Regions from separate parts of the Homo sapiens genome. Here all the other regions are linked to region 1. The links are contacts of gene promoters, found by promoter capture Hi-C in blood cells and fetal thymus (Javierre and others, 2016). All regions are on one chromosome and are shown on one strand. Each heading gives the region's core, a stretch centred on a gene start or on the middle of the fragment in contact. The rest is flanking DNA. Distances are from core to core; before and after follow the strand shown. Region 1 holds the start of SCAMP5 (secretory carrier membrane protein 5). Region 2 has its middle 16 kb from the start of COMMD4. Region 3 overlaps MAN2C1 (mannosidase alpha class 2C member 1). Region 4 overlaps EDC3 (enhancer of mRNA decapping 3).

Region 1 (2,700 bases), core at 50-2,549:
AACCCAGTTGTCCTGCCCCGAAGCCCAGGACCCTTCCTTCCTGGTTGGCCTGGTGGCAGGATGATGCTTCCTGCTCAGCCCTTCCCAGGCACCGAGGCTCTCTCCCTCCTTTTCCCCTCTGCCACACTAGTTCTTGTCTGCCTTTTTTCACTGCCACCCCCTTTTCATGCCAGCTGTGGGAGTGAGGCCCCACTCCTGGCAGGATGGAGCCAGACAATGGGCCCTTATTCTAGGCAAAGAATCCCTGCAGTGTCTCCCACCCACTGAGGCCCCCTTCCAGGCCTAGGATGGTGTGGGTGGGGGGTGGAGGGTGGGTGTATGGTGTAGGGGAAGGAGCAATTGGCTGGCAGGACAGACAGTGGCCCTGGCCCTGCCTGTAGAGATCCCACGGAGGTTTACTATGTAAACACCAATCACAATAAAATCCTGTCTTCACTCCCAGCCCATCTCTCCAAGTGGGTCTCTCTCAACCCTCCAAAGCTCTGGGTTTTTAAACATTTACCCTTGCCTCTACTCTCTCTTGGTATTCATCTCTGCATATCACTGTCTCTTTCATTCCTTTTTCTGAGTCTCTTTCTTTTTCTAAGCCTCTCCTCTCTCTCTCTCTCTCTCTCTGCTCCTTTGCGTAATTTGTCTCTATTTCTTGCCTCTTTCTTGCTTCATTATGCTCCCTTACCTATCTTATCTTTCCATGTCTTTTTTCTCTCCAGGCCTTGAGCTCTCATCTCAGTCTCTCTCTCCGTGTGTCTCTGTCTCTGTTTGCAGCTCTTCTTTCTCGTCCTCCTATGTCGTCTTTCCGTGGATCTGTGTCCTTGCCTCTCTGAATATCATCTCCGATCTTCCGTCCTCTGTTCTCTCTTTCCCCCTGCGCCTGCAGATCTGAAGGACCTTCCGCAGTCACCACACTCTCCTGCTTTCAGCTCTTTCTCACTCCTTTCTGGCACGTCCCAGAGGCTCCTGGCATAGGTATAGGAGGTTATTCTCCCCAGTTTACAGATATGGAAGCTGAGGCTCTGGCTGCTGGTGCCAGGCTCCCATCTCTGGGTCTCTTCCTTCCACCTACACGCCAGGCTCTTGTCCCTGAGGTGCCCGTCAACCACCTGATCCGGCCGGGGCCCGGGAACTAGCACCTCGGACAGCTCCTGGAAGATGCCGGGGCGGCCGGGTCGTCCTTCTCGCGAGCTCAGGAGGAGCAGCCTTAGGAGCAGAGCGGAAGTCTCGCGAGAGTGACTGCTGCAGGCAGTGGCGGCGCGGGCGCGCGCAGAGACGGCCTCGGGCGCGCGCGCGCGCGCGCGCGCTCCCCGCCCCCAGCCCCGGAGCGGCTCGCGGCCGGCTCCGCGCCGCATCGCTCGGGTGCAGCGCAGCTCAGCGCAGCGCTGCGGCCTTTCGGCAGCCGAACGGCCGCGGCAGGTGAGTCTGGGCATGAAGGCTGGGAGGAGAGCTTTGAAGGGAAGCTGGGCGCGGGGCGAGAGGTGTGGGGGTCGCTGGCTGCAGCTTTGTTCCTCCTACACTTCACCTTTGGATGCAGGAAGAAGGCCGAACTGCTGGAGAGGTGGGAGTGGAGGTGACCTTTACTGTTTGGGGCTGGGGGAGAGCGCTCAGGGCGCACCCAGGCCCCCCGAGCCCCCCAAGCCCCCCCATTCCCATCTGTGGCTCCCGCAGAGGGAACTGGGCCTTTGGGTGACGTCAGACCCTGGATCTGGAGCCTGAGCTTTGGGCCCTCCATCCCCCCCGCCAGCCCCACCTGGCGTTCCCTGGAAACCGGCCTTCTGGAGATGGCGTGCGCAGCCGGGGATGGGGGCGACTGGAAGGGGGTGCCCGTGGCTTCCTTTGGGCCTTTCCTTCCAACTAGCGCCTGCAGGTGGACCCGGGTTGACTTCCCTCACCTCCCTCGGGCGGCCGACCTTTGGATGGCGGACCTCAGCCGCCCCAGGGTTGCGAGGCGACGGGCGCGCTGGCCCAGGCCACCAGGCGGGCTCCATCAGGGCTTTGGGTGGTGAGTTGGGGGCGCCGGATTTGGCTCATTTCAACGCTGGCCGGAGGTCACGAGGATGGAGGTGAGGTGTTTGTGAACCGATCCTTGTCCTCCGCCTCGGGGAGCTCCTGGTCTGTGGGTTGGGGGAACCAAGTAGAGACTCGGACTGAGCATTCACTGTCACAGGCGGCTTAAACAAGTAATGTCCCAGCTTCCCGATGGGGAGATCAGTGAGGGCCTGGCAGACTTTCCCAGGGACACAGAGAGAAAGGGAGGCGACAGCTAGCGAATAGGAGACTTCCAGAGGTGATGGGATTTGGGTGGGAGGAGAGGCAAGAGAGGGCATTCCAGGAGAATGTATGGGCAAAGGCACAGGGATGAAAACGAGCACAGCTGTTGGGGGCTGAGCCTGGGAGCTCAGCCATGTGACTGCCCATGGGGTGGTGGAGTCTGGAGAAATTTGCAACCTGTCCCCTACATGTTCTGCCTCACGGAGCAGGGCTCTGAAAGAGGGAGATGGTTCTTGCAGGGGCATGATTGGCAGAGAGATTTTGTTTGGGGCTACACAGGTCTTGCTAACTTAGGTTTGTTCTGGGCTTGGTGAGCCTTAGGGCAAAGTCTCTAGAGCTGAGAGGGGGCTGTCTCTGGTGAATGGGCCCCTGAAAGAGGGTCTTAGGTTTAGCAAACCCCTTGGAGAGTTAGTGGGGTCCCAGGAGGGGAGTTCT
Region 2 (2,700 bases), core at 93-2,592, 320 kb after region 1:
GAGACAGGCTCTCACTCTGTCGCCCCAAGTGGTGCCCTCTTGCCTCACTGCCACCTTCACTTTGTGGCCTCAAGCGATCCTCCCACCCCAGCCTCCCAAGGTGCTGGGATTACAGGTGTGAGCCACTGCACCCGGCCTAAAATTGTATCTTTCTTATTATCAGTGAAGTTAAACATTTTTTCCTGTGTGTCAGCGGCATTTGGGTTTCTTTTTCTTTGAACTTTCATATTTTTTTTTCCATTTTTCTTAGAATTTTTGGTCTTTGTCTTCTCTACTTTTAGAATAGAATGAATATGATATTAATCATACTTCGAATTGTGACCATGATAGAGTACCTGTATTGATGATGGTCTCCCAGCATAAACAACTACAAAGCTGGACAAAGTACATGAAGAAATTGTCTTCAGGCATTGGGCAATAGGCAGTTCCATGTACAATCTGAGAGAAGGGAATCACATGAAGTGACTGCTACATTTTTCTGGTGGGGAAAGTTTCTAAACCCTCAATGACAGCACGAGGAAGCAGAGTCCAAGCCAAGAGGATCAGTCTTGTTTGGTGAAGGAAACAGAGACTGGTGCTCAGGGCTGCTAAAATGTGTGTGGCAGAGTATCAGAAAGGACGGAGTTGCAGAGGAGAAGCCCCAGAAATCTTACAGAGGTTGCTGCAGGTCCTTGGCCAAATCCCAAACAATGAGTGTGCAGATTGAGGCTCTGCAAGGCCCAGCACAGAACAGCCGATGGGGAGCTGAAAGCTAAACAGCGATTTCAGTCACAGACTGCTGGAGATACATCTGAATTCTGGCTCAGCCAGAGTCTCCACTCTTGGAATCTCAGATCTTGATGAATATTCCAGACATTCACAGAGGGCCTAGAAGGCCATGCCTTGGGATTAAGGAAGATTCCCTGGGAATAAGGGCAAAACTGAAAAACAGGTCACCCTAACAAAGCCTAAAATGTACCCTTGACACACATGATCAAGTTAACCCACGAGTAATTTAATTCCCTGCCAAAATAAAACTCAACACTAGAGTAGGATAACATAACCCACATCTCTACAATGAAGGTTCACAACGTCCAACAGCTCAAGAAATACTAGATGTGTGAAAAAAGTGAGAAAATATATCCTAAAATTAAGAGAAACCCAGTCAATATGAACAGACCCACTGTGCATGGTGGCTCACGCCTGTAATCCCAGCACTTTGGGAGGCCAAGGCAAGTAGATCACTTGAGCTCAAGACTTCGAGACCAGCCTGGGCAACATGGCATAACCCCATCTCTACTAAAAATTCAGAAACGAGTTGGGTATGGTGGTGTGCAGGGGCCCATAACCCCCAGGCTGTGGACTGTACCCGTAGGTAACCTGGTAGGAACCAGGCTGCGCAGCAGGAGGTGAGTGGTGGACAGCGAGCATTACTGCCTGAGCTCCACCCGCCGTCAGATCAGCAGGCATTAGATTCTCATAGAAGCGTGAACCCTAATGTGAACTGCACATGCGAGGGATCTAAGTTTCACACTCTTTATGAGAATCTAATGCCTGATGATCTGAAGTGGAACAGTTTCATACCATAACCACCACCCCCAACCCCGTCTGTGGAAAAATTGTCTTCCACGAAACCAGCCAGGACTGCTGGTGGCACGTGCCTGTGGTCCCAGCTACTTGGAAGGCTGAGGTGGAAGGATGGCTTGAGCCTGGGAGGTGGAGGTTGCAGTGAGTTGAGATCATGCCGCTGCACTCCAGCCTGGACAACAGAGTGAGAACTTATCTCAAAGAAACAACAACAAAAAAAGGGCCAGGCATGGTGGCTCACACTTGTACTCCCAGCACTTTGGGAGGCTGAGGCAGGCAGATCACCAGGAATTCAAGACCAGCCAGATGAGGTGGAGGTTGGAGTGAGCCGAGATGGTGCCATTGCACTCCAGCCTGGGCTACAAGAGCAAAATTCTATCACACACACACACAAAAAAAAAGAGAGAAAGCAGACCCATAAATGGCTCACACATTGGAATTAGCAGGCAAGAGCTTTAAAGTAACTACATACATACATTAAAGAATTTAGAGAAATATCAACACCTGTGAAGATGGTGAAAAAAAAATTTAGAGAAATAAGTTTTAGTATAAGTATGTCCTAAATATGCATGGTACATACTTACTAAAAAATAGTTTATTTTTTATCAGAAATCTAAATTCAACTGGGTGTTCTATATCTTATCTGGCATCTCTACCCCAAAGCCAAGCAGGAGAGAATCCACAGTCTTATCTTCCAGCAGGTGACCTAGCCTAGGACAGGGCCTGGCCAGGGGCAATTGTGAATTGGATGGATTAGAGATGCCAGTCATTCAGTGTGTCAAAGGTTTGCCAGACCTGCATACAATCAACATTATTATTATTATTGTTATTTTAATGTTAAGATTTTATTTACAAAGATTTTTGTTGTACAGAAAGTAAAAATGCTGTTACAGTCCCAGTGTAACTGGTAGCCACAGATGGTTGACTCACCAATCACAGCTATCTACGCTACAGCAAGAGTCTCACACAAAAACCTAACAACACTTACAATTTTGTTGGGGTGAAGTCCCTAAGCTCGATGGTAGATTGGTAGATTACCAAGAGGGACTACATGGAGGAAGACGGAATGTCACAGGAACTATTCTTTGGCTCTTTGGGTGGGTGGGTGTCCTGGGGTTTGTATCAGCTACCTTT
Region 3 (2,768 bases), core at 100-2,599, 370 kb after region 1:
ACAAACTTGATGTATACCTGGGAACAGAGGCATGGCTCCCAGGATGGAGCCAGCTGTCCTACCAGAGGTGCTACAGCCTCTCCTGACTCCCAGGCTGCAGTTCCTCCCTTACCAGCCCAGAACCTCTCACACCTTACCCTACATCTTGGCACAGCAGAGAAAGCCCTTGTTCTGTGATCCCAAAACTTCGGCTGCATCAGAATCAATACCTTCAGGAGCTTGTTAAAAATGTGGATTTCCCGTAAAACTCAGACACTGCAAACTTGTCCAGGAAGCCTCTCTGGAATCCCCCAACCCAGCTGGAGTAAGTACCTCTCCTGTGCTCTCCAGTGCCTCAGACTCCCCACCATTGTGACACCAACTCTGCCTGCTGAATCTGTCTCTGTAATCCTACCCTCAATATCTAGCATGGGCCCCATGAGGCATCAGATTTTGTTGAAAGAATAAATGAGGCTGGGCACGGTGGGTCATGCCTGTAATCCCAGCACTTTGGGAGGCCAAGGCAGGCGGATCACCTGAGGTCAGGAGTTTGAGACCAGCCTGGCCAACGTGGTGAAACCCCGTCTCTACTAAAAATACAAAAATTAACCAGGCATTGTGGTGGGTGCCTGTAATCCCAGCTACTAAGGAGGCTGAGGCAAGAGAATCGCCTGAACCCGGGAGGCAGAGGTTGCAGTGAGCCGAGATCACACCATTGCACTCCACCCTGGGTGACAAGAGTGAGACTCCGTCTCAAAAAAAAAAAAAGTGAATCCAAAGCAAGCAGAGCCCACAGTCCAGCCCCCCGGCCCCGTTTTACAGACGGGGAAAACGCAGGTCCAAGAGGAGCAAGAACTTGCTGAGCATCACACAGTGCTTCTAGGGCACATCCAGGTCTTCAAGGGCACTCCTGCTTCCCCAGCCAGCCCAACCAGCTGCTGTCCTACCTGTATCAATGTGGCAGTGCCCTGTGGCATGAATGGTGTGTTGGCTTTCACCCCCATGTTGGCCAAAGAACCTGGAGGCCAGGGCCTGGGCCACTGGGAAGGTCTCGGGCTGGGCAGGGTCACACACGTTCACCATCTGATTGGCTGTGTACAGGGCCTGGAAGCTGCGCTGGTTGTCCTTCCCGAGGCCCTGCAGCAGGGTTCTGCCCCTTAATCCCTTTTTCAAGCACAGCTTCCAGACCTAGGCTCCACTGATCTCAGGGCTCTCAGCAGAGCTCCCCTGACCCCCAACCCTTTTTCCCTGCTGGTCCCCCTGCTCAGCACCGTCTCCCTCCTCCCCTTCACATAGGAAAATTCTCTCAACCCTCAAGCAGGTGGAAACCCTCGTCCTACTCTGGATTCCCAGAGTCCCATTTATCTGACCCAAAGAACAACCTTCTTGGAGCAGGGCTCTAGAGGGTAGCAGGGGGTACAGGGGGTGTCAAGTACCTTGGCTATGCCCAGCAGCAGCTCCAGATCCACCAGGAGCATGTGGACATCCCGGTGGAACACAGCTAGCTCAGCCCGGCTCAGCTGGAACATCTTCTCAGGGTCAGGGGCTGCAATCATGCTTCCCTTCCCGGCCCCCAGGAGCCCATTGCAGGCTACTTCCACATAGAGAGTGAGGCTACAAAGATGGGGAGACAGCCTCAGGCTAAGGGACTGGCACAGTACTCCGGGGACTTGGGGAAGGGGCACCCAGGAGGCATCCAGCTGAGCCCAACCTGTCTGCTTCCAGGATCCACTACCCAGAGGATCCCACAGTGTGACAAGAGTGCATGTGGGAGGGTTGTGGTACAAACACCAGATGGATCCCATGTCTTGCTGTCAGAGAGAATAAGTAGCAAAGTTTGGAACCATGTAAAGTACGCTGCTGTTTAGTCTTATATTTCCAAAGTTGTCTTTGCAAAGCACTGCCTTGGTCTTGGAACCCTCTTTGCATATTAAAATCATGTTCGGATCTCCCAGGCTCAAACTTTTAGACCCAAGATCTAAAACCAACACGGCCAACATGGGCGGGCCATTCATTGGAGAACAGGCTGGGCTGTGGTGATGCCATACTTAGGCTTCAGAGAGCAAACACGACTTCCTTAGGGAGGCCTTCCTGACTCCACTTCGCTGCTAAGTCTAGAGCAAATTCCTCAGTGGAGTACCCAGGATTTCCTTCCAGAGCCCTCAGTTTTGTAATTATATGAGTGAATCTGTCTCCCTTTGTTGGCAAGGGCTATTTTATTCACCACCATACTCCCAGTGTCTGAAAGCATCTGAAACAGTGTCAATCTATATAAAATACATTCATAATGTCTAAGAAGTGTTTTTAATGGTGTCATAAAATGTCCATGTTATAACATGGAATGTAAGAAGTCAGGATACAATCTTAACTAGTAAAAACTATACCGGGATGAGCCGGGCACGGTGGCTCATTCCTGTAATCCCAGCACTTTGGGAGACTCAGGCAAGTGGATAGCCTGAGGTCAGCAGTTTGAGACCAGCCTGGCCAACAGAGTCAAACCCCGTCTCTACTAAAAATACAAAAAATTAGCTGGGCATGGTGGTGGGCACCTGTAATCTCAGCTAGTAGGGAGGCTGAGGCAGGAGAATTGCTTGAACCTGGGAGGCGGCGGTCGCAGTGAGCCGAGATCGTGCCATTGCACTCCAGCCTGGGTAACAAAAGCGAAACTCCGTCTCAAAAAAATCCAAAAAAACCCCCCCGAAAAAACAAAAAAAACTATGCCGGAAAGATACACCAAGAACATGAATACTGGGCCAGGTGCGGTGGCTCACGCCTGTAATTCCAGCATT
Region 4 (2,700 bases), core at 101-2,600, 360 kb before region 1:
TGCCCTGCTGGCTTCTGTACCTCTCAGCCCCAGAGAACCTAAGGGAATCAGCCCACCGTGGCTAGCCAGGTGGGGTCTGGTTTTCCACAGCCTGCCAGTCCCATTACTGGCCAGGACTTTAGGCTGTATGTGCCCAACAACTATGGCCTGCTGAGGGCAGGAGACGAGTGGGGCGGGTTCCTAGGCTGGGACAGACAGCACCTCATGACAGCCTACAGAGCAAGTCACACGGCACAGGACTCAGTCAGTCATTCAGCTTTATTTCAGTGCTGGTTTTTGGTTCCCTAAGAGCTGCATGAGTGCTAGGCTTCACCACGTGACTGGGGGCCCCTTGGGAACTGGGTACTATGGGCAGGATGCCCCTGAAAAGAACTGAAGACAGAGGAATCATACTTCTCTTTAATACCTCTGGGGAAGGCCCAGGCTAAGGATGAGGGCAGGGACCAGTCCCAGTGCCCCCTGGGGAGAGAAGAGGGAGAAGCTTGGGCACAAACTCCCAGTGGCCCTGCAAGGCTATCATCCCTGGATCTTGCTGGAGTGGACAGTCTTCTGGGCCAGGGTTGTTCTAGCTTGTTTCTCACTGTACCTAATCAGGGGGCCTAACTGCATTAACAGGCAGCCAGAACCTACCTACCAAAAAGCCTGTAACCTAGACTGCTCCTCAGATTTTGGCCAAGAGAGGGCCCCGGCTTGGGAGCTGCTTGGCCCTGAGAGTGAGCAGAGGCTCAGAGAATACACAGCACAAGGGTTACAGTCCCTGGCCTCTTCCCATCGCTGGAGACAATTTAAGACTGAAGGGAAGATGAGAGGAGGGGCCAGCCCTCTACCCTGGCTCATCTGCTTCTGGCTATGTTCCTACAAGGGAAGTGATAACAGCCTGAAACCCGTGGTACCAGGGCCTACCCTATGTCCACAATCCTTGGTGAGCCCTTCTGTCCACCCATCCACCCGCTCAGCCAGCCTGGGCAGACACAGAGCAGAAGCAGCCTGAAGCCCTGAAGCAGGCTTAAACACAAGTCCTTGACAGGAATCCCTGCCAGGATTCCAGGCATAGATCCTGTTCTACCAGCCTCCAGGGCCTAGAGCTTGGCACCTTAGGATTTGAGCATCAGTGTGTTCCTATGGTTGGAACCCACACCAGCTAGCTCATCCAGAACTAGCCTCATTTTGCCATCTTTGAGACAGGGTGCTGGCCCCAAGCCTACTCATCTAGACTGGACAAATGTAAAAGGTTCAAAGCCCAGATGATGTAAGAGCTGGGGTGGAGCTCAAGCACGGGAGCCCATCTGCCTGCTCTGGGATGACAGCTGCAAAGGACCGTTTCAGGGGAAGGGCAGAGGGGATGAAAGAGTAGGTGGGGCATGTATGTGCGGGCAAAGGGCTGGAGGAGTGGTGGCCTAGGACAGAAGCACCAGGAAGCCTCTTCTGGTTCAGCACCAGGCTCCCCCAGGGATATCCCCATCTGAGGGGTCTGGCCCCAGACTAGGCAAAGGCTCAACCTGCTCAGCTTTGAGGGTGGGGGCGGGCACTGCTGGCAAGATGGGCACTGTGGTTCTACAGTAATATAACCTTATACTACCTGTGCTGAAGACGACAGAACAACATAAAATCCCAATACAGTAACACCATCCTAATGCCGCCCCCTTCCCTACCTCTGAGTGATGGAGGGAAAAGGAGGGAGAGATCCTTGGAAAAATCAGCATAAAACTTGGATCAGCTCAGGAGTAAGGGTCAAAACCCCCCAAATCAACTTGTGGGGCTAGGGGAAGGCCTGGTCTGTCACAGCCCTGGACATGAATGGAGAGTGCAGGTCTGCCCTCTGGTGGACAGCTGCCGTGCAGCTGGTTCTACAGAGGAAGGGCTGTCTGCGTGGGGAAAGCAGGGGAGACACAAAGCCACAAGCTCTGAAATAGAGCAGGTACAGGCCCCCAGACAGGACCTGGCCCACTCTTCAATGTGTGTGCCCAGGCCCAGTGGCTGTAAACCTGAAACACAGTCTTGAGAGCTGCCTACGGCTGTAAACAAAGGCCCACCTGGCCGTGCAGGGGGCTGAGGGTAGAGATGCCTGGAGTTGCTGCACGCTCAGCCTGCCACCCAGCCCGGAACCCAGTGGGAAAGACTTCCCTGGCTAAGAGCAAGTGACAGGTCAGTTTTAAGTAAGTTCTGTTCTCTCACAGAAGAAACAAACCCAAAAGAGAAAAAACTTTAACAAGGTCCATGAAGCTTCATATCCTTAAGGCGTTTGTTATCAGGAGCAGCAGGGGACAGCAGAGTCCTGCCTGCGCAGGAACCCTCTAAGCAGAGTGCAGTGGGATAACAAACTTGCAGCCAAAGGGCGAGTGGTAGTTGATGCCCACCTCCTGGAAGACCTGCTGGGGAATGCCAATGTCGCACAAATAGATACGGCCTGCGTGCTCCCCCAGTGGCAGAGGCAGGCCCAGTGCCAGTGACCATTTGGCATCAATGCCCTGTTCGACTTCATGCACAGGAGGGTCTATGCTGAGTACTGGTGCCCGGTTCTGGTTGGCCCAGGCCACAGCTGCCTTGTACCAGGGTTGATCGCGCAGGAAGACGTTCTCAGGGCAATCCAGGCAGTTGATGACCAGGTCCACAGGGCTAGTGGGCAGATCTGCAGGTGGAAAGAGTGCCATCTGAAAGTCCCTATGAGCAGAGAGCAGCCCAGGCTGGGACTAGGGCCCA

The links. The method cuts DNA at HindIII sites, captures the fragments that hold promoters and counts their contacts. A CHiCAGO score of 5 or more calls a contact.
Region 2: a contact is called between a fragment that was not itself captured here and the fragment with the promoter of SCAMP5 in region 1, in 1 of 17 cell types (neutrophils). The highest score is 8.0, in neutrophils.
Region 3: a fragment that was not itself captured here is called in contact with the fragment with the promoter of SCAMP5 in region 1 in 1 of 17 cell types (monocytes); the score reaches 5.7 in monocytes.
Region 4: a fragment that was not itself captured here is called in contact with the fragment with the promoter of SCAMP5 in region 1 in 1 of 17 cell types (naive B cells); the score reaches 6.0 in naive B cells.

What each region holds. Positions count from the first base shown.
Region 1 is chr15:74,994,264-74,996,963 of GRCh38, forward strand. SCAMP5 (secretory carrier membrane protein 5) reads left to right here and starts at 1,300. Exons shown (of 7, transcript NM_138967.4): 1 at 1,300-1,410. The HindIII fragment of the contact is 14,301 bases long and covers 1-2,700 here.
Region 2 is chr15:75,318,989-75,321,688 of GRCh38, forward strand. It overlaps the pseudogene ANP32BP1. Among named protein-coding and RNA genes, the nearest start is that of COMMD4, 16 kb to the right of the region's middle. The HindIII fragment of the contact is 3,837 bases long and covers 1-2,700 here.
Region 3 is chr15:75,363,073-75,365,840 of GRCh38, forward strand. MAN2C1 (mannosidase alpha class 2C member 1) reads right to left here. Exons shown (of 26, transcript NM_006715.4): 5 at 1,416-1,593; 6 at 927-1,116. Among named protein-coding and RNA genes, the nearest start is that of MAN2C1, 4.2 kb to the right of the region's middle. The HindIII fragment of the contact is 8,016 bases long and covers 1-2,768 here.
Region 4 is chr15:74,630,318-74,633,017 of GRCh38, forward strand. EDC3 (enhancer of mRNA decapping 3) reads right to left here. Exons shown (of 7, transcript NM_025083.5): 7 at 241-2,629. The coding sequence ends at 2,295. Among named protein-coding and RNA genes, the nearest start is that of CLK3, 16 kb to the left of the region's middle. RefSeq lists enhancers at 1,714-1,773, 1,834-1,983. The HindIII fragment of the contact is 1,742 bases long and covers 480-2,221 here.